Regions from separate parts of the Homo sapiens genome. Here region 2 is linked to region 1. The links are contacts of gene promoters, found by promoter capture Hi-C in human tissues and cell types (Jung and others, 2019). All regions are on one chromosome and are shown on one strand. The core of a region is centred on a gene start or on the middle of the fragment in contact, and the rest is flanking DNA. Distances in the headings are between cores, read along the strand shown.

Evidence for each region. The method cuts DNA at HindIII sites, captures the fragments that hold promoters and counts their contacts. A contact is called where the count stands out against the background at its distance.
Region 2: a contact is called between a fragment that was not itself captured here and the fragment with the promoter of KCNB1 in region 1, in 1 of the 25 tissues and cell types used here (stomach).

The regions. Positions count from the first base shown.
Region 1 is chr20:49,481,123-49,484,012 of GRCh38, forward strand. KCNB1 (potassium voltage-gated channel subfamily B member 1) reads right to left here and starts at 1,546. Exons shown (of 2, transcript NM_004975.4): 1 at 792-1,546. The coding sequence starts at 1,358. The HindIII fragment of the contact is 16,129 bases long and covers 1-2,890 here.
Region 2 is chr20:49,834,688-49,837,854 of GRCh38, forward strand. The region is part of intron 3 of SLC9A8 (solute carrier family 9 member A8); the gene reads left to right. Among named protein-coding and RNA genes, the nearest start is that of SLC9A8, 23 kb to the left of the region's middle. RefSeq lists enhancers at 1,384-1,884, 1,885-2,385. The HindIII fragment of the contact is 7,659 bases long and covers 1-3,167 here.

The DNA of each region.
Region 1 (2,890 bases), core at 296-2,795:
CTGCCATTACCCAGCAGCACCAAAGACTCTCTGGCCCACTCTTTGTGTTCAAACTCATTCCTGCCTCCTCCTCCTCCTCCTCCTTTATTTTTCACATTGCCTCATTTTTCTCTCCTATTTTGAAATTTACATCTTGTTCCAAGAGCTGAAACATCTTTACAAGCTGCACCAAACCATTCTGGAAATAAACTCACCAAATAAATAAGTAACCAGGGGGTGACCCCTCACCCGCAAGCATCCACAACCAACTGCATGTGTCGTGTGGGTCCACACCCACCCCTCGGGGTCCCTTCTTACTTATGTTTAAACTATCTGACAGTATCTCAATGTCCTGTAAGCATGTCTGTAAGCTGCTTTTTTCCCTTGCTGGGGCAGAGTGAGGTTATAAATATGGAGATATTAAAATCACAGGGTGATCCAATCCAGCCTAGGTCTGGGACTTCACAGGGAAGCAAACCCTACTCCACCCCAGCAAGCCACTGTTGTCTCTCTGTGCTCTCTCTCTTATTCGTCAGTGTCCATCTTCTTGCTGTGGCTTTTTATGGGTCCCTGTGAAACCTCTCCAACCAAGTAGGGGTATAACGTCTTGGATAATAAAAAGATGGAGTGACCAGTGCCACATGGGAAAAGTCTGAGGGGGTTGGTCCTCACCTCTGGGGACTCAGTCCTAGCCCCTCCCCATTACTAATCTTCATCGTTGGGAACAAAGCCAGAGTCCTCCAGCAGTGGTCCTCAATATGGGGATGCAAGCAGATCCCCCCAGACCAGCAGCCCCCAGATCCCAGACTCACCTTGGCAGCCACAGAGGAATTGGGCTTCTCCAGTAGGTCCCAGAGTTTTTTCCTCTTCTCTGCGCAGCACGTGTTATCGAACTCCTCGCCTTCCCGCTCCCGTAGGGTCTCGGCCTCACGCTTGAGCTCCTCGTTCATCTGCTCTTTCTTCTGGTGGTAGCGGGCCTGGCAGCAGGACTCCAGGTAGATCTCGTCGATGCCCCAGTAGTCGAGCTCTTGGCTGAAGCTGAGCGCGCACATCTCCTCCATCATGTGCAGTCGCCCAGTGCGGTAGAAGTTGAGGATGGAGGTGAAGGCGCCCGGGTGGCGGTCAAAGAAGTACTCGTTGTCGTCGAGGCTGTAGTCATCGCACACCTCGAGCAGCGAGTCGTGCGTGTTGCAGTCGCGGAGCTTGCCCAGCCGCGTGCGGGGCAGGCGGTCCAGGGTACGCCAGAGTACCTCGTGCGCCAGCCCCCCGACGTTGAGGCGGACCCGCCGAGAGCACGCCTTGCTGCGCACGATCTCCATGGGCTCGGGCGGCAGCGAGCTGGTGGAGCGGGAGCCATGCTTCGTCATGCCCGCCGGCATCGCTGATCCGGCCGCCCCCGCCCCCCCTGCCCCCCCAGGCCGCTGTCACTCGACGGCAAGGCCCGCTGCTGCGGGGGAGGGGGGCAGGGAGCGCTGTGGGCTGCTGGGGGTGCAGGGGGCCCCGCGGGCGCGCGTCACGGCCGTCTTCTCACCTCCATCCCGACGGCTGCGAGGCAGAAAGCGAAAGCGGACGCGGGTCAGCAAACGGGGAGCTGGGCATGCTGTCCCCCCGCCCCCCACCTCTCCACCAGGCTCCCAGCCGGCCTTGACCTTCCCCCGCGCTTAAGCGGCTCAGTGGGGTAGGACGGATGGTCGCTGTCCCTCCCGCCGGTGCTGAAGTCCGCCGCACCCCATGGATGGAGGGAGGGGCCGCCCCTCGGGGCGGGGAGAGGGCCCCAAGAGATGCCCCTGGAGCCCGGGAGGCCCCACCCTGGGCTTCTGCGGCCCAGGCGCGACCCAGCCGCCCGGGGCGCTGTCCGCCCCTTAGAGTGCTGAAACTCTCTTCATTATGGGTCTCCCGATCGAGTCCCGAACCTGGCCCCGCCATGGGGAGAGAGGGGGAGCTGCATGAAAACTTTCTTTCTTTATCTTTTTCTTTCTTTCTTCTTCTTCTTTCCTTCTTTTTTTTTTTTTTAACGAGTTCTCTTCTTTTCCTTCCCCTTCTCGAGATAATCAAGATTTTGGGGGTGGGGGAATGGCAGCGGGCTTTTTTCCAAATCTTAAAAGATTTGGGGGAATTCCGGGGGTTCCAGGTGCCCACCTGTCCGAGGTCACAACAGACGGGGTGTGCACAACAGCCCCTCTGTCCTGGAGCGACCCCTCTTCCCAAACACTGGAGCATCTCCTGAGATTGCTCCAGCGACAAGGTGAGCCGCGAGGAGGAAAAGCCCGCTCTCGCCTCTCCCTCTGAGCCCCCAACCCTACCGCAGGAGGGGCGGGCAGAGTCCTCGGGATCCGCCTGCTCCGTCCTCCCCTCGCTCCTTCCCCGCCCCCTTCTCCTCCTTCTCCTCCCCCTCCTCTTCCTTCTCCCCCTCCTCCTCCTCTTCCTCCTCCTCCTCCTCCTCCTCCTACTCCTCCTCCTCGTTCCTCTCCCGCGATGGCTTTTTATAACTCCGGGTTCTGCGCCTTTCCCCGGGCTTGGAAGGGAAGGGGTGGGGGAGGTGGGAGGCGGGGAAATGAGCTAAATTTTCTGGCCTTTTCAAAAGGTGCCATCCTCCTACCGCGCACTAGTGATTTCGGGGGGTTCCCCTGAGCACCCCCTGCATGTAGGGCTCACGCCTTAGCCCCAGAATGGGGATTGCGCGTCCCCTCAGGCCTCAGCCCTTGCCTGCCTCCCACCCCGCTCCCCTCCAGCCTGGAGCTGCGGAGCCCGAGCAGACCAACAGGCCGAGCTGCGGCAGGCAAACCCCCTGTCCGTGTCCCCATGCACCCCCACGGAAGGCCGTACGCCCCAACACTCACCCCCAGGGCGGCCGCCTCCTGGGGCCAGGGACCGCGCATCGTCCCGGCCGCCCGGGCGCCCCCGCCCGTGG
Region 2 (3,167 bases), core at 267-2,766, 350 kb after region 1:
TTTACAGCGCTTCCTAGTACATCATAAATAATAAAAAGACGCAGGCTTGGGCAATAGAATAATTACTGATTTTCAAATGTAACTGCTTCATGTGTGATTATAAACGAGGTAATCATGGCATTAAGGTTTGGTATACATTTAGAAGGGAAAAAGAAAGTTGAGGTTTTAGTAAAGCAGAAAAACACTAAGCTTTAAAAATGAAGCCTGAAACCATGGAAAGAGGTTTAACTTCCCTAGTAATCAGGATGATTGCTGAATGCAAATTGAATCAAATACAAATTGAAACATTAAAGTACAATTTCTTGCCCACTATGTTGGCAGAAATGTTAACATCTGATGATTATCCAGCGCGACTGAGGATGTGGGACGCTTTCTTGTGGAAGTGTAAGTCGGTACAACCACTTTGGAGGATAATTTGGCAATATTTTCAGAGTTAAAAATGCTTATGCTTTGTAAACCTGCCATTTGTAGTCTCTGGATCTGCCCTAGGGAGATAGTCTGGGTTTGTTTTTTTTTTTGTGAATGTCTTCCACAGGGAGATACTCTTAACACAGAGTGGCATGTACAAGCATGTTCAATGCAGCACCACTGTTAATAGCAAACAGCTGGAGGCAACCATCAGTGGGGCAATGGTTCAAAAGGTTGTGATTTTAAAAAAAAGGTACAATATAATTCACATATCATAAATTTCACCATCTTAAAGTGCACAATTCAGAGTTTTTTAGTATATTCACAGAGTTGTACTACCATCACCTCTACCTAATTCCAGAACATTTTCATTACCCCAAAAAGAAACTCATACCCATTAGCAGTCACTCCCCATTTCCACATTTCTCCCTTCTCCCATCCCCTGGAAACCACCAATCTACTTTCTGTCTGTGAATTTGCCTGTCCTGGACATTTCGTATAAAGAAATAGAATCATACAATCGGTGGTACTTTTTATTTGGCAACAGCTTTATTGAGATGTACTTTGTATGCCACACAATTCACTTTTTTTTTTTTTTTTTTTTTTTTGAGATGGAGTCTTGCTCTATCACCCAGGCTGGAGTGCAGTGCTACAATCTCAGCTTACTGCAACCTCCGCCTCCTGGGTTCAAGCGATTTTCCTGCCTCAGCCTCCCCAGTAGCTGTAATTACAGGTGCCCGCCATCACGCCCAACTGCTTTTTTTGTATTTTTAGTAGAGACGGGGTTTCACTATGTTGACCAGGCTGGTCTTGAACTCCTGACCTCAGCCTCCCAAAGTGCTGGGATTACAGGCATGAGCCACCATGCCCAGCCAATTCACCCATTTTAAATGTACAACAATTTTTAGTATGTTCAGAGTCGTGCAGCCATCACCACAGTCAATTTTAGGACATTTTTATCACCTCAAAAAGAAACCACATGCCCTTTAGCTCTCCTCCCTGTCCCTGGGCAACCATTACTGTCCCTGTAGATTTGTCTATTGTGGACATTTCATATAAATGGAATGGTAAAATATATGGTCTTTTGTGTCTGGCTTCTTTCACTTGGTGTATTTTCAAGATTCTTCCATGTTCTGGCAGGTACCAGTACTTCATTCCTTTTCATTGCTGAATAATATTACATTGTATGGATATACCACATTTTGTTTACTCACTCATTAGTTGATAGACATTTGGGTTCTTCCCACTTTTTTTTTGAAATGGAGTCTAACTTTGTCACCCAGGCCGGAGTGCAGTGGCGCAATCTCGGCCTACTGCAACCGCCGCCTCCCAGGTTCCAGCGATTCTCCTGCCTCTCCCAAGTAGCTGGGACTGCAGGTGCATACCACCATGCGCAGATAATTTTTGTATTTTTAGTAGAGACGGGGTTTCACCATGTTGTTCAGGCTGGTCTTGAACTGACCTCAAGCAGTCCACCCACCTGCGCCTCCCAAAGTGCTGGGATTACAGGTGTGAGCCACCACACCTGGCCTCTTTCCACCCTGTGACTGTTTGAAATACTGCTGTTAGGAATATCTGTGTACAGGTTTTTACATGAACATGTTTTCAGTTTCTTTGAGTAGAATTGCTGGGTCATAAGGTAACTTTTGAGGAATTGCCAAACTGTTTTCCATGGTGGTTGCCCCATTTTACATTCCCATCAGCAATGAGTGCGTGTTCCAATTTCTCTATATCCTTGCCAACACTTATTTCTCATCTTTAAAATTATAACTGTGAAAGGAAGACAAATCTTGGGACCCTAAAATCACTAAGCTAAAGGGAAAGGTCAATCTGGGAGCTGCTTAGGACAAACCTGCCTCCCATTCTATTTCTAAAAAGATAGCTACTAAGATAAAAAAGTTAACATACCTCCCTCTCAATTTGTACACAAGAAAATTCCTTGTGGACAAAGGACAGAACTCAAAGTCACCCCTCTCTTTGTTGAGATAAATGCATATCTGATTGCTTCCTTTGGAAAGGCTAATCAGAAACTCAAAAGAATGAAACTGTTTGTCTCTTATTTATCTGTGACCTGGAAGCCCCCTCCCTGCTTCTAGTTGTCCCACCTTTCCAGACCAAACCAATGTACATCTTACATTGTTGATAGATGTCTCATGTCTCCCTAAAATGTATAAAACGAAGCTGTGCCCCGACCACCTTGGGCACATGTCGTCAGGACCTCCTGAGGCTGTGTCAAGGGTGGTCATCCTTAATGTTGGCAAAATAAACTTCCTAACTTGACTGAGACTTGTCTCAGATACTCTGGTTTACATAACCATCCTAGTAGGTATGGAGTGGTATCTCATTGTAGTTTTTATTTGCATTTCCCTAATGATTTATGATGTTGAACATCTTTTCATGTGTTTCTCAGCCATTTGTATATCTTCTTTTCCAAAATATCTATTCAATTTTTTTTATTATTTTTATTTTCATTTTATTTTATATAATATTTTGAGTTGGAGTCTCACTCTGTCCACCAGGCTGGAGTGCAGTGGCATGATCTCAGCTCACTGCAACCTCTGCCTCCTGGGTTCAAGTGATTCTCCTGCCTCAGCCTCCTGAATAGCTAGGATTAGAGGCGCCCGCCATGCCCGGCTAATTTTTGTATTTTTTTAGTAGAGACTGTATTTCACTGTGTTGGCCAGGCTGGTCTCGAACTCCTGACCTCAGGTCATCTGCCCGCTTCAGCCTCCTAACGTGCTGGGATTACAGGCATGAGC